Regions from separate parts of the Homo sapiens genome. Here all the other regions are linked to region 2. Evidence: promoter capture Hi-C in 16 types of primary human blood cells and fetal thymus (Javierre and others, 2016). All regions are on one chromosome and are shown on one strand. The core of a region is centred on a gene start or on the middle of the fragment in contact, and the rest is flanking DNA. Distances in the headings are between cores, read along the strand shown. Region 1 overlaps AP3B1 (adaptor related protein complex 3 subunit beta 1). Region 2 holds the start of OTP (orthopedia homeobox). Region 3 has its middle 210 kb from the start of TBCA. Region 4 overlaps AP3B1 (adaptor related protein complex 3 subunit beta 1). Region 5 overlaps AP3B1 (adaptor related protein complex 3 subunit beta 1). Region 6 overlaps AP3B1 (adaptor related protein complex 3 subunit beta 1). Region 7 has its middle 190 kb from the start of TBCA.

Region 1 (3,504 bases), core at 622-3,121, 480 kb after region 2:
TATCCCCAATTCACTGGTTAAAATGTGTACTTAAAAATATAAGGTTTAGAATGTATTTGTGGTTCTCTTTGTAATAAACAATTCTTTTAAATTCAAACATGGGTAAAGAGAAAAATCCATTTCTGAAGAAAAGAATAATAAACCTAATACATGACTACAAATTTTGAGTATACTGACTTTTGCCATCTGAAAGGACATTTCATGCACTGAACAAAACTTTCCCTTTCTAGAAACAGGACATGTTTTATAACTCGTATCATCATAGACATGCTGATATTAAAGCAGAAGTACAGGATTTCTCTCAAAGACAAGGCTATTATAAACCAAGTAGCTCCTTTGCTGCAACAAGTGAATGATTCTAAATATATTCAACTTCTAGCTTTTAAGATAAGATTTTAAAAGTAAAAGTGTTATTTTATTATGCATCACTCAATTTTGATGGTAATTATTGTTTACCTTACTGCTTAGAGTTTCAGATGTTAATCTAATGAAAAGAATTTACTGGTAACTAGGTTTTTAACTTTGCAATGATGAAAAGCCTGTATTAATTTAACCTACAGATTTCATTTGTTCTGAACAGGAAAAACAATATAAATCACTTTTAAAATCATTAAATCCTGACTTAAATTAATAAAGTCATAATTAGGGCATTATGCTGTGTTTGTTATGGAAGTGGCAGGGAGAGCTGCTTTAATTACTGTCTGTAATAAAAGGAGCAGAGAGCGTACTGCGCCCCAATCAGTGCTGTCAGCCACGACTGAGCCGGGCTGCAAGCTCATCAAGTGAGCGGGCAGCAGGCTCCCGGGGAAAGGACCATCATGTCGGCAGAGGCCACTCGCTGACAGCAGCGGGGAAAACAGAGTTGCACAATCCAAGATATTAGACCCAATTACTCAAAATTTTAATGACACTTTAATACATGATAATGTTATTGATAATGGGAGATCTTAAAAAGTGCTAACACTTAAAGATCTTATGACCGTCTTCCTTCACAGCCCTTGACTCTAATATTTGGATCATAATCTTTTTAATATAACATTATTTAGAAAAATCAATTGTCTTGGTTACATAATGGCAAAGTGTTGAAGGATTTAATTTTAGCCCTCAGCAAAATCGCTACAAAAGGTAATTAAGTGTTTCATACCTATTGCTTGATCACTTAACTCAGCCTTCCAAGGTTATACCAATTTTCAAAATGTAACCCCAAGATATGTTCAAGTTCAAAATGAAAGCTAAGCATTACAAGTAGGAAAATAATGTGAACAACTAGCACTTTAATTTTAAAAAGATTTAATATCTGGAAAAAAATACACACTTTTTTTCTCTCACCATTTTTTGATTAATAAGAAACATCTCTGCCTGGGGCAAACTTTCACAGAATATTTTTTGAAGGAAATTCTGACAAAATAAGTTACCTTTTTCCTTTGGCTTTTGAGTTCCTCTTGGCTGTTCTTTTGTTTTCTAGGCCTGACTCCCGTCCACTCTCACTGTCCTGCTCACTGGAGGAGTCCTCACTGCTGTCCTCATTGCTGTCTCCTTCCTCCCCACTTTCGCCTTGTTCTCCACTTTCACTTCCAGATTCACTCTCTGAAAAACAGAACCAGATGTTCTTAGATTTATAGTCATTTAATTAGACACACGGACACCTGTAACTGTCAATATTCATCACAAATGAAACCAGATGTTGAATTTTAGTTCAGTGGACACCACTTGTTTAACATTTTATTCCCACACCCCATTCTTTCAGCTCTATGGATTCCTTTAGCACTGTGAGCTTGGAGGGAGGCAGACAGAGGATGCTCTGACAACGAGGAGAGAAAAGCTAAGCAAAGGTGAACCAAGTAAACCAAATTTGAGGGAATCTCACTTCAAACCCCAAAGTATATAGCTATGTCAAAAACTTTCTTTTAAAGAATTACGTAAGGATTGATGTAAGGCTAAAGAAATAATTTTGAATTCTTCTGCTTGTAATGGGAAATTCTATTTAGAGTAAAAGAAGGCAACAGTTGAATCTTCTTAGGAACAAATTTTGAGAGGAAAATGAGCCATTCAAATCACTTGGAAAGACCTCCAAATTCAAAGACAATAGGCAAAATGACTAATTAAAGAGTTATTACTTATTCGAGCTAGTAAACGAGTTTTCCATAGGTCAAAGAGATGATCAAGTTACACTGAGGAATTATACTTTTAAATGTTTTATGTGTAAATTATGGTATGCTAGGACTGTTCGCAGAAGAGAATACATGAAGAATATATGTGTATTTTTTAAGTGAAGCATAATTTTTACTATTTAAAATGACTATAACTACAGAGTTGTGTCCCAGACAAAAGGACAAACTGTTGCCCTGCCTGTGATCTATGTAACGAAGCCCTCTTAGGCAGGAACATAACCTTTAATTAAACATTCTAATGGTTAAATAATACCAACATCAGGAAGGTCCATCACAGTGAAAACCTAGGACTGCCTGTATTGTTTTAAGACGGCTTACAAGGGGTACAAGCATGGGTTCTCAAGTTAGTGTTCGGATTCAGATCCTGGCTCTTCTACTTGCCAGTTGTAAAACTGAACAAGTTATTCAACTTCTCTGGGTTTTGGTTTCCTTTTCAGCAAATGGGGATAACACTAGTTACTTTTCAGAGCTGTTGTGAAGATTAAATGATTTGAAACATACAAAGGAGATTAGAACACAACAGGGTCTGCCACAGGGTAAGGCACTCATCATTATCATCATTTACAAACAGGAAAGTTTATTTTACTAAAATAAAGCTACTAAATAAGGACATTTTAGATTTGTGGTAATATCCAAGTTACACGCACATACATATTAAGTCAGATAACTGGCTTATGCTATAAACAATGAAAGAAATTACAGGTAATGTATCACAGATTAATTTATCAGATACTAAAAACAAAGATTTTTGATAAGGAAGACAGAGAAAAGAAGAGTGAATTACCTTACAGTAGGGTAGCAGATAACCATGTAAGAGTGACAGGCCCTGGTTCTCCAAGGAATAAAGATTTTAGAGAAAGTTGGGTGTCGTTTGGTCTTGGGTCAGATTTGCCTATTAGCTTAAGTGTTAATAAGAGCATCAGAAAGTGACTACAATCTATTTTTCATTATGCAAATCACTCACAGAATTTTAGCAATGAAGGGACTTTAAGAAATATTTAACTGTACCCCTTCATTTATCTGATATAGAGAAAAGTAGGTGCCTTATTCAATTTGCATAGGTAAAAGCCAGGGCCTCTAAATCCTTCCTATTAAGCATTCTTTTCACTGCATATAGTTACCCTCAACCTTTAGTTTGATTTTTTTATAGTATATAGAGACTTAATAATTTTAGCTTTATCTCTATAGAGGTTCACAGAAAGAGATAAGTATAAAATGAAAGAGAAAAAGACTCTTCAAGGTATAAAATAAACTTTACGTTTTTGTAAAAGAAAGTTACTTTTAAAGACCCCACTAAAAGTTCATCAAGTGTAAAATTATGTTTTTCAATAGA
Region 2 (3,392 bases), core at 555-3,054:
TCCAACTCGTTGAGCTGTGCGGGGGTGAAGCGCGTCCGGTGGCGCTTCTGCTTCTGTTGGCCCTGCTGCTGGCCGGCTTGGCTGGGGTTCGGGCCGCCCTGGGGCCCGGGCTGCTTGTCCGGGTCTTTGGCGCTCACCGCCAGCGAGGCCGGAGTAGAGCCCACTGTGGTGATGTCCTCCCCGGGCAGCAGAGTGGCTCCCTCCACTGGGTCAGAGTTGGGCGCCAGGTCCCCCGGATGGCCCCCGGGGTCGGAGCCCCCCACGCCCAGCCTACACTTCACCGCCTCCCGGTGGCCCAGAAGCTCGGCGGCATCTTTCATACCTGAGGAGGCAAGGGGATCGCGGTCACTACTTTCTTGGCGATGCCAGGAGGGGCTGTCTTCCCCGCGCAGCCTTCCTTCAACCCGTCCTCGGCCCCCTCCGCACCCGCGCTTGTCCTAAGGAAGAAACTCCCAGGGTATTCAGCTGGGTTCCCCAGAATTTGGACAGCCGGGTTGGAATAATATCTCCCGGCCCCTTGCCCTCGCCGCAGCCGGCTCCCGTAGTAAACAGCACAAGCTTTCGTCTCTCCCACAATAAAACACTCCCAGTCCCGGCAATAAAACATGCCTCTGAATCCCTTCCATAAACCGTACCCCAGGCGCCCCAGGAAATCGAGAGCAAATCTTTGGACACAGGGGTGCGGGGGGCAGAAAGAAAATTAAACAATTCCTCGGTTGCTGCGGCACCTGCGCTTCGGCAGCCTGACGAACTGTACCTCCGGCCCTCAGCCGATTCCCTCTTACTTTCGGAAGATGAATAAGCCTCCAAGCTTTCACCCCCCGAAATCAACCCAAATCAGCTCCGCCTCCCCCTCAAATCAGAGAAAGTGTTTGGAAAATGGAGTCACATCCATCACCGAAGATTCCCAATCCGGAAACCCAGAGCTCAGCAACCCAGATAGCATTAAGGAAACTCGAGTGAACTCTATGGACAACCGTGAATCAAACTTTAGAGATTTCAACTTTTCTTTCCAGAGAAATAAAAGGCGCATTCCTCACAGCCATTGGCAACGCTGAGTCCCTTGCAGAAGAGGGGGGGATGACTGTGAGGTTGAATTTGGCTTCTCTCCTTCTCAACCAGCACACTTAGCAAATCCGCCTTGATGGCAGCAGCTTCTCCTTTATGCCAGATTTTTTACAAATTACACCACACTTAGAAAAGGAGGAGAGAAGAAGATGGTGGGGAGAGAGAAACGGGGGGAGGGAAGGAGAAAGAAATCCCAAATCAAAACAAACAGGAGAGGGAAAAAAGAGAGAGAAACACCTCCTAACAAATTATCACGGGGTATATCGCCTTTCGAAAAAAAAAAAAAGGCGGGGGAGGGGGGAAGAGAAAAATAAGAAAAACAAAAAGTAACAACATTCCCCAACTCCTTTCTTGGATCTACATATTCCATAGATTTTTTTTTAAAGGCGATGTTAAATCAAATTAAACTTTAATGCAGCACAATTACTTTTAAAGAAATTAGTCCATTTAGGTCGCATTAAGGTAAAATAAGGAACAAATTGACAATTTCCTGCCCCGGCTTCTCCTGGCTGCCCGGGCGAGAGGCGCGCACTCACCTAGCCTGGCGTCCAGGAGGTCGGCATGAGACAGCATCGCGCACCGCTCCAGGGCGAAAGCTGTTCCCCCCCAAATTTTAGCGGCTTTAAGTTATTTAAAATAGATATAAGCTATAAGCTATACGATATAGATATATATAGATCACCTAAATGAAAGAAAATTCGGTTTGTGGTTAAAAAGGGGGCTTCTTGCATTATAATGTCCTTTAGAGAGACGGGGAGGTGCTTAACAGTTGAATGAACCCGTGAGCAGCTCGGCGAGGGGACCAATCAGGAGGGCAGCCTGCAAATGTCAGCGCCCGGAGAGTCCCCCACTCCGCCCGCCCGCTCGCCTGCGCCCGCCTGAAGGAGGCGGCGGCGGCAGCCCTGGCAGCTCCAGCCCGGAGCAGGAGCTAAAGCAGCCTCAGCCGCCTCGGCCTCGCCCTGAGCTTCTGGGCCCGGCTCCCTCTAGTTCTTCCCTGCGATTTTCTCCAGGCTCCCCTTTCCTTCCCCTTGGCCGGCGCTGCGCGCTTCGAAGGCGTAGCTCTGTGCCTCTGAGCTAACATCTTCCTAGGGCAGGGGCAGAGCAGGGGTCAGAGCGGGCCATGACCCTGGCGTGACCTGAGGGTCGCCCCCACCTGCGCTCTCTGGGCCTGCCGCTCATATTGGCCCGCCAGCCCAGGGCGCGACGAGGGCACACCGCGGCCTTCAGACAACGCCTGGACTTCGCCGCGGCTCAGTAGGCCTGCGCCTAGGGTCCAGGCGCCCTGGCTGTGCCCTGGGGTCTATACGAGCCCCAACCCCACAGTGGGCCTAGAGCGCAAAGAGGAGTCGGCTTCCCTGGCACCGCCAGCGCCCGCTGTCTGCTTTGGGGACCCTCGCGGAGTGTGGGTTCGAGCGCTCTGCACTCTTCTCACCGGGCTTCTTCCCGGCTCCTGCTCTTCCGCTTGGCCCACGCCCGCATCCTCGCCCCTAACTCGCTCTTTTGGTCAAAGTTTCTAAGTTCAGCTCGGCTCCCAACTCCACTTAAGGCTGTAAATAAAGTTAAATGCTCTTTATTTTCCTCTTGAATATGTTAAACTACTTGAACAATTTAAAGTGCTTTGCACAAGTGAAGCGAACCATTTCTAATGTTCTGATTTTTCAGAGCCAGCCAACAACAAAGTTTAGATTAGTAATATATTTCTAACCAGAGTAATTTTCAAGATCATTAGGCATTTATGTAATTAGTGCCAAATCTATAAGCTTTTATTACGATTATTAGAGTAAAATCAGTATAAATTTGTACTAATTTACTACTGTTTAGACTTGGCTGTCAAGCCTAGAGGTTCTTATTGTAAATGATAACTGAGGAAATTAAGTGCAAAATTCTGTACCATTTCTGATCTGCTCCTAAACAATCCGTTTCAATTGTATTTGTAGCAGAACATAATGCCCTTTTAAAGTTATTTGACTTGTATTTTTATTTGCAACACAAGAAAAATGCCCTCTACCCAGTCACAATGAAAACTGATATTTACTACTCCCAACTTGATTAACATTGATTTTTAATTCGAGAGTGATGCAATTAAGATTATTCATTTAGTGCAAATAAACCTTCCACAAAAGGGTGGCCCAATGAAGTCTGTTTTAAATAATACTGAGCAAATGGCTTTTTTTGTTCGCCGTCCAATTGACTTAGACAAAACATTGAAAATGCTGGCTGAGAGCAGATGCGAGAGGAATTGTGTGTGTGTGTGTGTGTGTGTGTGTGTGTGTGTGTGTCCTCAGCTGTATGTGTGACAGGGACCGAGCAAGGAGACAAAGGAG
Region 3 (3,344 bases), core at 358-2,857, 350 kb after region 2:
GGAGGGGCAGAGGTTGCAGTAAGCTGAGATCAGGCCATTGCGCTCCAGCCAGGGCCACACTTCGAGACTCTGTCTCAGAAAAAAAAATGGGGCTGTCTCTCCCATTCCTGGCATGAAAGGTACCTACTTTCTGTGGGCTCACCTCCCTGTGTTCGATCCTTTCAGCCAGTTCCTCTCATGCTCTGGGCGCCTTCTCTCCTCCCCACATCTGTTTACATCACAGCTCCCCAGCCCCACCTCCACCCCAAGGAGTGACCAGACTACAAACGCTCTTGCCAGCCAGGGCGGTCCTCTTGGCTGCCAAAGCTCTGTGCAATTGCAGTCACAGACAATCAGATTAAATGTCCTATCACCCGGCATTGATCAGATTAGCAACCTTGTGACTATTCATTAATTGTATTTTCTCTTGGAGCCTGGTTCAACTCAATACCCAGTGCATTGTTGGTGGCATAAAAAGTAAACACAAATAGGATGTTTGTTACATTTTAGAATAAACTGTCTGCTACTTTTTCAAAACAAAGTAGAAGAGGATAGAGAGGTTAATGCAATGTTAATTTTCGTGAGGCAATATAGTTAAACTAGGAGATTTCCCAAGAGTCATTAACATTCTGTAAAAGGCCTTTTAGAATTCCTGTGTCCTCAGCGCTTCAGGAAACCCCCTGCTACCTTGGTAAATTTGGCCTAGGTCCCCCAGGGCCCACCTTTTTTGTGTGGTAGAAGTCACAGAGGGCAGGCCCAAACTCTTGAAGTGAAGGGGAAAAGAAATCAGGGTGTTTATGTATGTGACTGGAGAAGTCTCACGTACGATTGTCCCGGATTTAAACATATAGGAAGAGGACGAAGGCTACCAAGGGTGTTTCCCTGCCTCAGACGCCCAAAGCCCAGAGACCCAGCCCCGCTCCCTGGGTGCACGCAGAGCCCCACCGAAGGATGCTGGCGTCCCGTGGGAGAGGGATGCCGTGGGAGGACCTGCTTCGCCCTGATTTCCACACATCTCTCTGCTGTCCCACCTGACCACAAGAAGAACCCGAGGCCCCGGGCGGTCAGGAGACTCAGTGGCTGTCACTCACTGGGCAGTAAAGCCAGTAAATCACCCACCTTCCGGCAACGTTGCCAGAACCCACCTGATGTCTTGAGGGTCACAAATGCGAGCGCCCTCCTGTTTGCTCCATTTCAGGATTCATGGCATTCCAGTGAGAAGAAATCTAGAAGAGAAGCTGCTAAATAATTATCCAGAAACATTCCCCGACAGCAAAATCTATTAATGAGTGGGAAAGTCTTTGTGGGGAAATGGTTAAGAATGGCATCATCTGACATGATTAAAATGCTATTAAATAAAGAACTTGGGAAACCGGGGAGACGCTTGAAAAGGCCGATAAACGGGGCAGCCTCACATGCGTTCCCCCGTACAGACCTTTCATGAGAACATTTCCGTTTTTCTTATCTAACATTCATCCTTTCCTCAGTTTCTAAGTGGAGAATACCCACTCCTTGGATTTTTTTAAATATAAAATAATGTCCATAATTTAATGTTTAATGAGCTCCAGGCATGGTACTGGGCACTTTATCTGTCTGAATTTTAGGTGCCCTCTTCATTTCATACTGTCCCTGCAGGGCTGGGAGAGAGAGCAGAGGAATTTCTTGTAAGTTCTCAGGAGCCAGGCAGATCTTGGGCCATGCCCAGCCGCCCTCTCCGGCTGTCTGACTCTGAGCAAGGTGGTAGCTTCTCCAAGTAGCAGTTCCCTCATCTGTAAAATGCAGATGAAGACAGCCTCTCTCAAATCTGGCTGTGGTGAGGATAGAAGAAGAAAATGTACTTTAAAAAGGATTAGCCTAAGGCCAAGTATAGGATGCCCTTCATTATGGAAGATAGCATTAAAAAATAATTTTAATTAGTGTGAATCTATTCTCCCATTTTGGTATTTTCCATATAACTTTGTTTATCATTTACTTCTTATTGCCTGTGAATCTCACAGGAGCACAAATCCCCTCCAAAGCAGATTTAATTGGGGCTAAAAAGGCAGGAATCCTATGAAAAAGAAATCTCTGTGGCCATGTGAAGGAGTAAACATTTCACTGATAGGCGCCAATGTTTGTTATTCTGTGAAAATCTGCTTAATTTATAAGCAACAGTGATACTCCCAATAGGTTAAGTTGAATTCACCCTTGAGAAATTTTAATTTCAGTGTCACTATTGTTATAATCTGGGGGTCTTCCAAGATAGACATATCAGTAGAAAAACAGTGACTCATCTGAGAAACTCAGGGCTATATATATATATACACATATATATATATTTGCATTTTTCATATGTACTTTCCAACTTCCTTCCTTTCCTCAGTATTTAAGTGTAGAATACCCACTCCTTGGATTTTTTAAACTATAAAATAATACATACGTACGTATATATGTACACACATGCACAGATATATTCTGCTTTATATAGTTTAGCATTAAAATGTATTTGAGTAATACCTAAGACCATGTCTATTTAATTTTAACCAGTGGGTTATGGGAATCATCAAAAATCAAACACAATAAAAAGAAACAATATTTATGGCATTTTAAAGCCTATCCATTATTGGTTAGTGCTCCCCTCAATTGTTTAACTGCAATTGGTTCCACTTTCTCAGTGTGGATGATTTTTATACATCTGAGTTAAAAAATAATGCTGCTTGCAAGTGAAAAGTTAAAGACCAAGACAGGGCCTATTAGAATAACATTACACTTTTTTATTCCCTGCACTTACTTTGTCAATTACTAATTATTTCCCTTTTGCTATGCAACAAAATAGAAGCCATAAAATCTTTGATTTAATGAAAACTTCCTACCAAATAGGTCCTCTAACTCTGCTGAAGGCTTATAGGTAATTTATCTACCTCAGTAGGCAATGACCTTTTGTGAATCATGAGTCATTCCTCACTCCTGATGAGAGGGATCCAGATGCCATCCCACCCTCTGCCTGGCCCCTCCTTCCTCCATCCAACAGAGGCTGTGCGGCTCCTGTGCCCTGCCTCCGACTTCTCCAAAGTGGGCTGTAATTAGTCCTTGCACAGGGAACCTGCCAGGGAGTGGATCTCCCTCCTCCTGTGCTCCTTTGGCTCCTTCGTTAAGGTGACTGAACATTCAATGTTCTTTTCTAAGTGGCCCTGAAGAAAAAGGGGTGAGGGATGGTAGAGGCCAAGGTAAGTCTTATTATTGTCTGGGAAGTGGGAATACTTCCTCACACTTCAACAGAAGCCTCTCTGCCTACTCTTCCCAAAGCACAGTTATGGAGAAAATCACCAGGGGCTCAGAATGGCATTTTGGGGTCAGTATTTTAGCGGCACAGAGCAGTGCATGCT
Region 4 (3,531 bases), core at 763-3,262, 410 kb after region 2:
CCCTGTGCTAAGGAGTATGATACAGAGACAAAGCCAAAGTATCCTAGTCCTCAAGAAGTTTATTGTTTAGCCTGGGAAAACAGAGTAAATCAACTAGTGTGATAAATGTCATGACAGAAGCAGGCTCAGTAGGCTAGAAGAACACAAAAGTCATAGCTGACACCTGAGGGAGTCATCATGGATGAAAACCCAGTTATTTTAATGAAATAATCTGGCTATTTCTCACTACTGCCACTGTGGCCAGCCCGGTCTGAGCCACCACCACCTATCATCTGGATTATTCCAACAGCCTCCTAATTGGTTTCCTTGTTCCTACCCCTGCATCTTATTGAACATAGACTGAATTGCTATGTTAGTCTATCCTGAACACAGCAGCTAGAATGTATCAGTTAAAGTTACATCATGCACTGGGGTGATGAAATAATTTGTACACCAAACTCCGTGATATGAGTTTACCTGTATAACAAACCTGCACATGTACCCCTGAACCTAAAATAAAAGTTAAAAGAAAAAGAAAAGTTGTATCATGTTACCCCTCTGCTCAAAACCCGCCAATGGCCAGGATCCTTGTTCCATTTCCTTGATCTTGTTTCCTATTACTCTTGAACTCGTTGTTTATTCTACTCATCGCCATGACTTCCTTGCTATTCCTTTTGCATATTAGTAACAGTCCCACTATAGGTTATTCCCTGGGACCCTCTACCTGGAAGGCACTTTCTCCAGAGACCCACATGGCTCAGCTCTAGTATGTCTGCTCAAATATTACCATCTTAGTAAGGCTTAACCCATTGGCATCCCTCCCTTCTGATTTCCTTTTTCCTTTTTTATAGACACTTAATACCTTCTCTAACACAATATATAATTTACTTTTTTGTTATGTTTATTACCTGTCTTCCCATCTACTTCCCACTTTTATGCTCAATGTATTAAACTTAATTTTACCCTTTCTCAGAACTCAAAGCATAATTTTACTATTTTAAATGATTATGGAAATTTGCAAATAATATACCTCTAGTGTTGGTCATAACTATACATTATTTAATGCTGAGTGCTCAATTATAACAGTGTCCTTAAAAATACTACAGCCTTATAGGAACACACTGTGGTGATATGTGGAGATCTTCTATATTAATATTTGTTGGTTTTATGATATAACTTGAATTTTCTATTACATAAAATTGTGAACAAATAAAGAAGTACATTTCTTAAATGCACAAAGAACAGCTTATTGAGGGACTTCTATAATTCAAACACTAATTCTTGAAATGTCTACTTATAAGTGTATTATTTTATTAAAACTTATATAAACAAGAGTATGAAAGACAAAGTTTGAAAACATTAGTTTTGATTTAATTGTTTAACGACTAACATTCAAAGAATTAAAAACTTAGATGCATTATAAGCAAATGATATAGGTCATCTTTACTATGGCTCGTGAGGAAGTAATTAGTTCAGTAACTGCAGTAACTGTAAAATAACAAGCCTCCCCCAAGAGTTAACAGAACAAAAAGCATCCAGTAACAATGAGATAATCCTCTACAAATCTTTACACAGCATATGTTTAAATAATAAAAGTCGTTTGTGTACCTTTAGATGGTTTATGAAAATAAGCAATCAATTCTGCAGACACAACATTATTTCTAAAGGAAATCTATGTGACTCATGATGCCTGTAGATACACAGAGACAAACCACACATATTTTATCAGTTTATTACAGTAAGCAAATAAGCGTGGAATGAGAGTGCACATAACTGTCTACTTAGCGCTTACTGAAACATTTATAAGAGCTGTTATCTCCCTAATAACAGACAGACAGCGTGCAATTTTAGAGAGGAGAAAAGCTTCATATTTTTTAACACTTCACTAAAAAGTAACTGAAGAGTGTAAAATGAAAAATACTCTGTGCAGTTAGCTGGTAATGGACCATATTATCAACTCAAGTTAGATTTATAGGATACAAACTAGTCACTAATAGTTATTTTATGACATAGCATGTCTGCTTTTTTTTGAGATTATTAAGATTAAAGTTGTAAAACTTCTTTTGAACATAGCTGTTCAAAATGATTGAATTATAAAATTTAAAATGAGATTCGAAAAATAAAACATGGAATAGCAAGTAAGTGCCTTGGAATAAGCCTTGTTCAGCATCCACATTACTATTCAAAGATGACATTTCCACGTAAAGCTTTATGAAAACAATGTTTCCCAGCCTTTTATGCTTTAATCCACATTTAGTTACCCAGTCATTAAGTATTATCAATCCATTCTGTTTTTGAATTTCAAAGATATGAAAATCTGCAGTATATAAAATGCTCTTTGTATCTAGTTTTGTTTGGCTTACTTTACATCAGTATCTATTTTGATATATAATTTATAAAAATGACGAGGTAAGAAAATAGCTATAAACAGAGGCACAGCTTCATCTTTAAAATTAGTACTTTTAAAACCAATGTATGTCTCAATTGATAAGATTTGTAATGCAGAAAGTCACAGTATTGTCTCATTTATCCTATAAACTGTAGAAAGTGGGTCTTGATTTTACCTTCAATCCATTTCATTGAGGCTAGCATTAACCTAGTATTGACCTAGAATAGGATTTAAAAAAGTAAACGGCAAATTTGGTTAACTCTTACATATAAGCACAGACTCGAAGAAATATATTTGAATCTTCCAGCAAATATTACTTCAAATAAATGGTTTTTAATACTAAAGATAACTTCTTCCTTATGTATATAAATTTTGATATACAAATTTATGATAATTTCTCATATTTTATTTTAGTAATCACTATACATTATAAAGCACACAAGACTTTCTCACCTCTTATTTTGGTAATAATATATATTAAAAATATATTTGTGGAAATACGTGAACACATAATGAACAAATATTTAATGAGCATCTTATTTCATGCTCGGTATTAAGCAGGCACCAGCAAACCATGCTTAGAGGCCAAATCTGGTCCACTGTCTATTTTTGCAATGCCTGTTCACTAATAATGACTTTCACATTTCTAAATGGTTGAAAAATCAAAAGTAATATGATTGTAACATTAAAATGATATGAAATTCATTTTAGTGTCTATAAATACAGCTTTACTGGAACACAGATGCACTCATTTATTTATGTATTATCTGTGGCTGCTGTTGCATTAAAATGGCAGGGTTGAGTGGTTGTGGCCTGCAAAGCTGAACATCTTTACTACCTGGCCCTTTACAAAAAATGTTTGCCGATCCCTGGTATAGGATATATTCAATTTACAATGGTTTTGATATAAGGAAATTAATATCCCATTCTTTCTCCTCCCCAAAGACAGATCAATAAACTTCACTATCAATACACTTACTGCTTTTCTATATATCTGAAAGCCAGAATAATGTCTATATTGTTTTATATATCACGTACGTGGTAAATAGCACCAGAACCATGAATACTGATATGTTATACTATTCATACATATGTTCTCCTATTCTTTTTATATTTCTTTTCTGACTTTTGGCTTAAGAGTACTAATAAAAACAGACTGAATT
Region 5 (3,497 bases), core at 881-3,380, 510 kb after region 2:
CTATTTTATCAATTTCTCCTCACATTTTGAATAGATTTTTCCTTTACATATTTATTTGGTTGCCATATTTTTTGTGCAAATAGGTTTGTGCTTATTACTTTCTTTACAAATTACCCTTTTTTCATTTTATAATGTTCCTTTTTATCTTGTTAAATGCTTTTAATTAACTGTAAATCTCACTTTCTTGTTCATATTTGCTTAATATCTCTTTCCTTACCTTCTTATTTTCAACTTTTATCACTTGATTAAGGTGCTTTAACTATAAATGGCCTGTAGCTAGTTTTTGTTTTTATTCCAATTTGTAAGTCTGTCTTTTGATGAGAAAATTCAGTCCATTCATATTCAAGATGAGAAATATTTGATTTTATTTCTTCCATCTTTATTACTTTTAAATACTTATTATTTATTTTACATTTGTTTTCTTTCTTTCTTATTTTTTTTCTGGCTTTGTAAAACTGCTATTTGTTCCTTTATTTTCCTTTGTGAATACTGAATTCTCACCATATTTTTGTATCTATTAATGGTTATCTTCTGAGAAAAACAAAAGCTGAAAAAAATAAGCTTTGCTATATAGAGCTGTAAGACTGTACTTATTTGGCTTATAGTCCAGCAACTGTTGAGAAAGTTGATGCATCAGCCAGGTGCCATGGCTCACGCCTGTAATCCCAGCACTTCGGGAGGCTGGGGTGAGATCACCTGAGGTCAGGAGTTTGAGACCAGCGTGGTCAACATGGGGAAACCCCATCTCTACTAAAAACACAAAAATTATCCAGGCACGGTGGCGCATGCCTGTAATCCCAACTACTCAGAGGCTGAGGCAGGAGAATCACTTGAACCTGGGAGGTGGAGGTTGCAGTGAGATGAGATTGCGCCACTGCACTCCAGCCAGGGTGACAGAGCAAGACTCCATTAAAAAAAAAAAGGGAAAGAGAGAGAATGAGCGAGAAAAAGAAAGTTTACACATCAAAAGTATCTTCTGTATCCCTGGACATGAATATACTCAAATAGAAGAAAGTTTTCTTCCAAGAAAGCCTAGGGTTTGCCAGATACAGGCCTCATACACTGTTACAGGTTTTATGTATAGCAGCTGCACTCTCCTGAAGCCCTAGTACTTATAATTGCCTCTTCCTTTCTAAACAGGACCAGAACGAGTTTACTAGCACAAGTTTTAACTAAATTTTGCACAAGAAGTCTGGGGAGATACAGAACTCCTAGTTCCTTCTCATAATCAGATACATACTTCTCTACCATTACCTGTAAACAAGGTATTAACTATTTCCCTCACTAAAACCCATGGTTTTCACCTCAAGATAATTATTTTTACCTTACTACTTTTTGAACACCAGATGAGACTACCATAATAATTTCACTTCTCTCCACTCTCTTCCTCCCACAAAACCTTTAACATTCTTTTATTCTGACCTCCATTTAATCTCATTCCTCAGTTTTCCTGAATATTCAATGTTTTTAGTTCTAGGTTAATAGAATTTTCCTTATATTATGCCCCCTTCTTTATCAAGAGTTCAAATTTAGCACTTTGGTTAGACATTCCTAGTCTATTGCTATACATTTATTAGGTTGGTGCAAAGGAATTGAGGTTTTTGCCATTGTGGTAAAAACCACAATTATTTTTGCACCAACCTCATAATCATGTGTAAATATACAGTCACCTATATATCTCTCTTCTTTGTCTTCTTCCATCTAGAGTTCTCTGTGCTAGTTCATTAGCTATTGGTTAGACAAGTGGTTCTTCCTGGGGGCTGTATCACTTCGTAGGAAGTAACTAAATATGAGCAGTGTTACAATGACTAGAGACACGACTGAATTTTGATGCTTGGTGGATAGGAATGCTAGATGTCCATTTCGGCGGCTTTGAGAAAAAAAGCTTAACCTCTCATTTCCCATCAAAGTAATGTCAAACATCTGTTCTACACTGCGGTAGACATTGATCATGTCACTCTAATTCCCAATTTGTCAATGACTTGAGGGAAGCAAAAGGAAATAATAAAAAAAACCTTGGCTAGGTCACTGAGTAGGTATGTGAACTGAATACAGAAAAAGGACCGGTGACAATTTAAATATTTGTTAAATAAAGTGAAATTTTTAAACAGATAGATTATAAATGGAAGTGAGATACAACATAATGCACTGGTTAAGAAAGCAGACCTGCTGCTATGTGACCTTGGGCAAGTTACATAACCTCTTTGTGCCTCAGTTTTCTCAAATATAAAATAGGAATATTAAGAGAACTTTCCTTGAAGTGTTGCTATTAAAAATTAATAATTTATATTTTTAAGGTACTTAGAATAGTGCCTGGCAAATGATATGCTCTATAGGAGTTATTTTAAATAAGTAAAATATAAAAGAGGCAATAAGAAAGCTTACAAAATTAAAACCTTACCATAGTCTGTCTTCTTCAAAAAACACTCAATATTCCCTTAATAACAGCTTACACCGAGCACTGTTCTAAGTGCTTCACATGCATTGACTCATTCATTCCACCCAACAGAGCTCTAAGGTTGTCAGTACTATGATCCCCATTGTACAGATGAGAAAACTGGAGCATAGTGAAGTCAAGTAACTTGCTTAAGTTCATGAAGCTAGTAAAAGGTACAGACCAACTGTGAATCCAAGTCATCCGGTTTTCAAATTACTCTCTTAACCCCTACATCTCTCATACACAATCTCTATGAGAAGTCTTGGCTTTGATCATTAGAATCAACAGTAAGAACAGATATGAATACAAAGTAACTCTCCGCTGAGAGATGGGGTGGAAGTTCAGATGCTAAATGACTCCTGTAAGCCATACTTTTTTTTTTTTTTAGCTTTAAGATAAATGTGTAACTGCCTTGCAAGCTTTACTAACACCCTAAGGGAAAGACAATTTTGCCACCAGAGATATTTAAAATTGGTCTTGACTGGCAGGTTCTAAATCTTGTGATCCATTACCCTTGACTACACAAAAATGATCCCTCTGAAGAGAATGAGAATACAGATTAACCCATCTTCAAAAAAGGAAATAATATACTCCTCCCTAAACTACATCTGCATTTATTATAGAACATCACTTGGCAAAACATTAACCAGCACTCAAGAAAAAGGCATAGTAAAAAGCAAACACAATGGAGAAGAAATAGCTGAAGAGTTTGAAGAAAAACCAGAAGAGAAAAATCACAGAAGCCATGAGGAGACTATTTCAAAAAGGACGAAGTAGTTAGCGTAGTCCAATGCTAAGAAAAGATCAAGGAAGATAGGGACAGAAAAGTATCCACTGGATTTAGAAAGGAGATAGTAACCTTGGAAAAGGCATAGTTAATGAAGTGCTGGAGAACCAAAATCCAACTGTGACGGGGAGGGAGTTTGACGTAAAGGAATAAAACTTGTTGCAGATAGTTCTTTCAAAAACTTTGGTTTTAAAGGGAAGAAGAGCATGAAGATAGAATGACAAACACATAATGCAGCACTACTATGTGCCAGCCAGCGTTCCAAGGGCATTA
Region 6 (3,490 bases), core at 793-3,292, 400 kb after region 2:
CATTTGATGCAAGACAAAGTGCTCTTTTTGGAACACACACACAAAATTTTTGATCTAGCATGCTGTTGTGCTTAACAAAATCTAAAATAAATAATTTGTATCTTTATAATAACAAAACATACTAATGTAAATGCTTTTAATAGTCAAGAACATTTTCTATGTGAAATACATGAATTATTTTCCTAATGTTAGTTTGAAAGAAATTTAGAAAAAATATTATTCACATACACTCCTTGGCATAAGATAAAAATCAAATACTACCTGCATATATATCCATCCTTAAAGAGACTTAGTTAATTATGAAAGACAAAATGCAAATCCTGTTCAAGAGACTATAAAGGAAGTCTTTGTAAATAAAATTGGGGAAAAAAATCCAATTACATAGGAATCAAAAGGTTCTTTATACAAATTGATAAGAAAAAGGAATCTTTTTTAGTTCTTAATTTTGGTCTAACTTGGTACGTGAGCTTTGTCATTGGGTTCACATTGTCCAAATCATTAAAATGAATATACCTCTGGTGTCAGAGGCAAATCTATTTAGAGTGATGTTACTCATAGCCTGTTGTTCAGTAATATTGATCTGTGTTGTTTGTCTAATAGAAAAATAATAAACAATTACTAGGCAATGTTGGGAAAAGTAATCAGTTTTTATATATCACTAATACAGCAGACCTCCCAAAACATAAAGGTGATGATCTGCATAAAATCAATGTGTTATGCTACATTGCTTATATTTATCATTGCAGGTTCTCGGCAATAAAAGGTATAACATTAGGCCAGAATTACTGGTAAACTGAAAAGGTATATGAAAATGAAAAGTTCACTATGTTTAATCTATACATTTATTTTAAAATGTCTATTTCTAAAACTTCAAGACTTTTAAATCATAACAAATTCTGTTCTAAGCTAGCTAAAATGTAGGTAAAATGTCTCAATTCTTTTTAGAATAAAAACAAAGAAACTTCAACTCAAAATAGCCAATTGGGCCTTATATCAGAAAAAGAAAAGAGTTCAAAGATAATTCTCAATGATGCATGAATACGGCTTTGTTCTAATTTGCTAATAGCCTCTGAATTTCACAAGAAATGTATAAAGCATTATAGAAAAACATTAACAACAAAATCCAATCCTAAAAAAGCTCTTCTGAACAGCATTCAGCTATGAAACCTTTGCCAACTGCATAAATGTTCTCTTTTGACTTTTATCAAAGCAGTTTGTAAATGGATGTAAAAAGGAAAAAAAAAATGTGTGAGTTTTAGGTACTGATGGCATCAATAATATTCCACTTAAGAATCTCAAGATAACATGTATGTATATCTCAAAAGATATCTTCTCTGAGCTATTTAATAATATTATTAATGCTTTTAATTTCTCCTGGATTTTCCTCATGAATTTTCTCATAAATTTTCTAAAACTGGAGTGATAAGTTAAAAATTACTTAGTAGTAGCTTCTTTCTTTAACCAACAAACCATGGATTTCAATCACATATGGCAGGTTGTAATGGCTAGGTGTGTAACGAATGCTAAAAATACATATACTACACACAATTTGTACAACTATTCCAAGGCAGTCTAAACATTATCAAAGCAAAACATATTTGTTTAAATGTTTTGTCTTTCACACACACACAAAAGCTGTTGAAAGCTTAGTTTTTGATCTGCTATCCTTTACAGGTTATATAAAAAATAGAAGAACAATTGAACTTACCACAACTGGAAACTGGCAGTCTGAGTAGAATCACAAAAGTCAATACCCATTGAAACTGTAATGGATCCCTCAGGCTCAAGAGAGTCTAGGAAATAAGATAATTTAGACATGAAAACACAGAGGATGTGAAAAAGAGGCAAACTAAACACTGAAAATTTAGGTAATGTTTGTAGCTTGGTTGAAACTGTGAAATGTAATGATGGCTTAAAAATTTCAAACTAAGAATATTAAAGCAAATTACAAAGTAACCTAACTATTCTGTTTCAAGGTTTTCTTTTTCACAAATTAATTCTGCGCATACACCAATGAACACATTATACCCATTTGTTTCAGAAATACATATCTTCCTGAGAAATGTCATGTTTTCTAATATTATCTCTATAGGTACTGAAAATGAGAAGGAAATAAATGTGTTCTTGTTTCGCATACCTGTAATGGACTTTGGGAGTTCATAAGAGGTTATGTACTTAAAACTATGGCATGTTTATTCTAGATATAAAAAGTAAATTTTAAACAATGTCCAAAATTTTCAATGAAAAAAATCCTAAATTAAAAAATGTAAATCAAGTTGGAAGAAGAAATTAAGATGCACTCAGAAATTAATTAAGAGATCTCACATTGAAACCAAAATGTTAAGTCTAATTGCATTAAATACTCAAAAAAATTTGTGGCAGATTAGATTATCTTTATAAAACAAAAAATAAAATGACATTTGATAGATTTGGAATTTCAGAAGCTTCATCTATCAACTAACCAAGTATAGGAAATAACTATACCAATATACAATACAGTATTTTTTTTCAGTTAACAATGACAAAACTTAAGGCAAACAAGAACAAAATTTTATTCTGCTTATGATTTGAAAGTTTAGCTATATCTTAGAATAATTGAGGGGATCTTAAATAAATATGTATATATTTGTTTATATATAGAAACTGTCCATTTTTGATTTCTACTTTGCTCAAAGTATTCTGTATAATTGCAGCTATACCATACAATCACTTTATATTTAGCTTTATCTATTCTCTATACATCCTATCACACGTAGTTATATTTTAGCAAGCACACTTCTAATTCAATAGACTGTGACTATTCTAGGGCTTCTTGGTAAGTATGATTTGCCATTGAATGCTAACCACGACAGAGATGATGGTACAGTCGGGATAAAATAATAATTCAATAAGCTTCATTTATTAAGTATTATGTTTATATCTCATAGGCTCAATGAGGAGTAAGCATTACAAGAGAGTATTTGTTCAATGCTGATTTTAAAATGCTATTTGTTAGGCAAAGGAAGTATGTTAAAAATAAAAAAAGTAATAATTAAAATGCTATTTGCTCAGTGGTATGTATGTTAGTTTGCTGATTCTAGTTTGAATTTCATTTGTTTACAAACCTAACATTTTCCAGGATGCCACTCAAATACTAGAAGACTTGCTCCCTAAATCTCTAGCAAACAGGCTTTACTGTAGGGTAAATAACTATAATGATACATATGTTTTTTTCATTTCTCATAAAGCTATGTGCTGTCAACAGTTTAGAGCTTTGTCAGTCACACGCTGCTCCAGGCTATTCTTGAGTGAATTCTTAATGCCTTCTGTGCCATAACTATTTTGGGGTTTGGTCTTGTTTTTATCTGACACATTAGTAGCAAATTCCGTCATCTCCAAAACTTGATGGCTTTCATGATTTAGATCTCCCTTCATCATGTATCTTTGCATGTCATTTGACAAAGTGACAGCTCTCAAGATGCCTTGTTGATAGCACTCTTTGACACTGTTT
Region 7 (3,495 bases), core at 366-2,865, 330 kb after region 2:
GAGCCGAGATTGTGCCACTGCACTCCAGCCTGGGCGACAGAGCAAGACTCCAACTCAGAAAAAAAAAAGAAGAAAAAAAAAGAAACAAAGAAATTCCCAAACACTCAGGGTGAAGCCGAGAGGAGGTGAGTGGATCTGGTTAGTATATATTGTAGCTGAGACTCCAGGTTTATAGTGCCCATGATGTCCTCAGCTTAGATTTCAGCAGTTTCACTAGAGTGACTATAATTTCCAGAGCTACCAAATGCTACCCAGAGTCTGACCACATTACCAGAAATTTCAGATTAGATCTAGATTTAAACAGATACACCTAAACTTGGGGGTAAGGGGCTAACTTTTTTCTTGGTTAACATAACTTAATTTCAGTGTATTTCTCTTAAACACCTAGCTACACCAACAAGGTAGATGCTTAATAGTTCAGACACATTCTGAAGTTTATGCCTCAAAGGCAATCATAGGAATTCCAAGAGTGATTCATACACAAATAAATCTGTAACTTTCCAGCAGAATTATTTTTAAAACCTACCAAATATTACCTTTTCTTCTACAGGCTAGATTATTTCTTGCTTACCCATTGTACTGATAGCCAGGGAGAGCCAGGGAGAAGTATGATAATCAAACTCCATTCTATCTGCTAGCTCTGTCCTATTTTCTTCATGAAATTTTTATCAGCAATGATAAAATCAGCTTCTTGAGTATTAGTATGCTCCTTGTAGAGCTGGGAGGAGAAGGCAAAAAGCCAAAAGAGCAGAAAGAGTGGGAGACAAAAGAAGCAGAAAACTCGAAAACAAACAATATAATCCTAACCTCAAATAACCAAGACATGGCAACACTTTCAAATACTGAAAACTCCTTTACATTTGTAATTGTTTCACAATTTCTAGATATGTAATCAAGGAATAACACCCATTTTAAATTATTTCTTAAATCAAGAATTTGAAAAGTTTTTTGTGCCAGAAAAATGTTAATGTTTATAAATGCCTGAATAATTAACATTGACAAGGTATAACAAAAACATTTGATGTTTTTCTCACATACTTATAATGCTTATGGCTTGACTGGAATAATGACAAATAGGAGGAATACTTGGAAAATTTCACTGCGTGTGTGTAGGTTTAAGCAAAATATTTAACCGTTCTGGGCCTCAGTTTCTTCATGTGCACGTAGGGCTGTAAAGAGAGTATGATAATCTCTAAATTTCTTTCTAGTTCTAGGAGACAACAAAGTAAAATCTGCAAAGTATAACAATTAGGATCAACAAAATTCCTGCATGAATTCCAACATTTGCCATAACAATATATGGTTTTTCAGAAAGCTTAATATCTCTTTGTGGTATTTTTGTTTTTAAGTATTGTGTTAATATACAGCATTAACTTAAATGTTATGCTCTAATCAGCAGCTTGGATGACCTTAGAGTTTTACAACTGAAACGCATTGAATCGATCCAGTAAAACATATTTGGGATTTTGCCATTGCAAATCCAGCTTTACGATTTACTGACAACAAATGGACTAAAGGAAATCTGTGTCTGCAACATCCAACACTGGCTCTGCTATCTCTCTATCCATACTTGAGGCAATGAATGATCTTTCTGCAGCCAGCTATTGAAATTTTCAATCGTGAAATTAATTTCATTCTTTTACCCAGATATGCAGATATCCAGGTCAACATTTTCTGGAAACATATTAAATGGAGTGGCACAGAAGGTTGTACAGGGCAACAAAAATGGCAATTTTGGACAATTCAACGAGACGTACAGCCAGATCACAACTCTTTCACAGCTTCACTATAAAACTCCCAGCCTCTAAAAGGAAAATCTCTCGTGATGCAAGAGAAATAAGTGGGAGCTGTACCAAAGTACATTATATTGTGACACAAAAAGCATAAATCGTGTGTGTATGAAAATCATAAGCCCTAAGCTTTAGAGAGAGTTGTGCAATTGACAATCAAATGGAGCTTAAAGGGAATTAGGAGGTTTTCAACTAAAGTCTTGAAATAAAGAAAGTAATATTTTACGGCAAAAAATTGCAAGTGTCAAGTTTAAATCATAAGACTTTGCACCATTGAGCTACTAGCTAGTTCTATAGCTTCTTCAGTCCTTAACACAGGGAAAGACCAACTTTCATGCTTGATAAAACTTAAGAACTTTAGAAATACATTTAAGAACATAATTCATGTATTTGTGACTTTTTCCCTCCCTAAATGGCTAATTGTAGAAGAAAAATGAGTGAGCATAAGAACTTCTTGGATGGTGACCTATTCCCCCATTTGCTTTAGACTCTCATGAATTCTTGTGTTTTTTAAATAGGGCTGCCACCAATTTGGTCATTCGAAGAAAAGGCGGGTCTCAGGAATATGGATGGCTGTCCTCCCTTTCCCCTTCAGATGTCAGCCGCATCTACTCCTGCTTTTGGAAAACCCCAGGGCAAACGGACCTGCCAGGCAGCCAACCAACCACCAGCCCCCGTGAAAGGCTGGAACCCAGCTGCCCAATTCGGTTGCTCCTGTCCAAAGCCAGACAGGTGGCAACCCAGATTGAATCTGTTGTTGTGGGAATGATTTGATTCACAAACAAGGTTATTAAATTTTATATGGAGACACAGGCGAAAGTCACAAGATCCTGGAGAGAAAGACCTGATTCACATAAATTTATCTTAATAGCTGTGAATTCGGGAGCATAAAGCAGAAAAAAAATTAATGGAAAGGCATTTCACCTCCTCCGTTTGCCTGCTCTCCTCCACTCCCCGGCACATAATATGCCCACACACACACATACATCAACAACTGCCATGACTCCATCCAGCCTTTTGCAGGAGGAGCCCAACACATTGATCTGAGCCTGTTTTGACATATAAACTCCAATTTGGCCCCAAGTCACTGCGAGTGGACACTGCCACCAACGTCTCTGACACTAGGTTATTTGTTGTTGCTGTTCGCTGTCCCTGTTTGCACATTAATCCAGTAACAATTAGGTGTCAGCGAGCGTTGTTTCTGCTTAGCTGATAGCCTTGGGCTCTGCGCTTGAAGCCCTAATCAGGAGTGTAAACTCTGCTATATTTCAATTTGGAGAAGCGCTCTTCCGCTAAGAGGCCCCTGGCACTGCGATAAATAAAACGCCTATTTACTCTATTGCCACACTTAGACATCTAATGCACTTACTACCAGCCCCCTAATCATAGCCTACAGTTAAAACCGCCTATAAATCACTCCGTTCTCATCCTGCACATTAGTGAAGCCATTTTCCCCAAACCCCACAATGAGCACTGTTTCCTTTTCTTGTTAGTCAAAAGCCAGATGATTTTTATTAGGTTAAAGACGAGTTCACAGATGGTAAATCGCGTGGAGAGAAATGAGCTGGAGAGTTACACCGAGTCAACGCGGGACACGGCTCCCGGCCCGGGCCGGGCCAGGGGTGGGAGGCGGTTCCCTACCGCAGGCGGCGGGACTCCCATGCGCCGAGGGACCCAAGTCTCCACTCCACCCACACGCCCACCC

Evidence for each region. The method cuts DNA at HindIII sites, captures the fragments that hold promoters and counts their contacts. A CHiCAGO score of 5 or more calls a contact.
Region 1: a contact is called between a fragment that was not itself captured here and the fragment with the promoter of OTP in region 2, in 1 of 17 cell types (naive B cells). The highest score is 5.5, in naive B cells.
Region 3: a contact is called between a fragment that was not itself captured here and the fragment with the promoter of OTP in region 2, in 1 of 17 cell types (megakaryocytes). The highest score is 5.2, in megakaryocytes.
Region 4: a contact is called between a fragment that was not itself captured here and the fragment with the promoter of OTP in region 2, in 1 of 17 cell types (megakaryocytes). The highest score is 5.1, in megakaryocytes.
Region 5: a contact is called between a fragment that was not itself captured here and the fragment with the promoter of OTP in region 2, in 3 of 17 cell types (naive B cells, total B cells and megakaryocytes). The highest score is 7.1, in naive B cells.
Region 6: a fragment that was not itself captured here is called in contact with the fragment with the promoter of OTP in region 2 in 1 of 17 cell types (endothelial precursors); the score reaches 5.0 in endothelial precursors.
Region 7: a fragment that was not itself captured here is called in contact with the fragment with the promoter of OTP in region 2 in 10 of 17 cell types (total B cells, naive B cells, megakaryocytes and 7 more); the score reaches 16.5 in total B cells.

What each region holds. Positions count from the first base shown.
Region 1 is chr5:78,112,337-78,115,840 of GRCh38, forward strand. It overlaps AP3B1 (adaptor related protein complex 3 subunit beta 1), which reads right to left. Exons shown (of 27, transcript NM_003664.5): 19 at 1,416-1,587. Among named protein-coding and RNA genes, the nearest start is that of AP3B1, 180 kb to the right of the region's middle. The HindIII fragment of the contact is 4,249 bases long and covers 1-3,504 here.
Region 2 is chr5:77,636,909-77,640,300 of GRCh38, forward strand. OTP (orthopedia homeobox) reads right to left here and starts at 1,805. Exons shown (of 3, transcript NM_032109.3): 1 at 1,605-1,805; 2 at 1-322. The coding sequence starts at 1,641. RefSeq lists enhancers at 1,791-2,347, 2,348-2,902. The HindIII fragment of the contact is 2,017 bases long and covers 810-2,826 here.
Region 3 is chr5:77,987,234-77,990,577 of GRCh38, forward strand. No RefSeq gene overlaps it. Among named protein-coding and RNA genes, the nearest start is that of TBCA, 210 kb to the left of the region's middle. RefSeq lists enhancers at 462-981, 982-1,501. The HindIII fragment of the contact is 9,302 bases long and covers 1-3,344 here.
Region 4 is chr5:78,049,421-78,052,951 of GRCh38, forward strand. The region is part of intron 22 of AP3B1 (adaptor related protein complex 3 subunit beta 1); the gene reads right to left. Among named protein-coding and RNA genes, the nearest start is that of AP3B1, 240 kb to the right of the region's middle. The HindIII fragment of the contact is 344 bases long and covers 1,841-2,184 here.
Region 5 is chr5:78,147,120-78,150,616 of GRCh38, forward strand. The region is part of intron 14 of AP3B1 (adaptor related protein complex 3 subunit beta 1); the gene reads right to left. Among named protein-coding and RNA genes, the nearest start is that of AP3B1, 150 kb to the right of the region's middle. The HindIII fragment of the contact is 495 bases long and covers 1,884-2,378 here.
Region 6 is chr5:78,032,653-78,036,142 of GRCh38, forward strand. It overlaps AP3B1 (adaptor related protein complex 3 subunit beta 1), which reads right to left. Exons shown (of 27, transcript NM_003664.5): 24 at 1,709-1,793. Among named protein-coding and RNA genes, the nearest start is that of TBCA, 260 kb to the left of the region's middle. The HindIII fragment of the contact is 799 bases long and covers 1,644-2,442 here.
Region 7 is chr5:77,969,191-77,972,685 of GRCh38, forward strand. No RefSeq gene overlaps it. Among named protein-coding and RNA genes, the nearest start is that of TBCA, 190 kb to the left of the region's middle. RefSeq lists a silencer at 3,480-3,495. The HindIII fragment of the contact is 604 bases long and covers 1,314-1,917 here.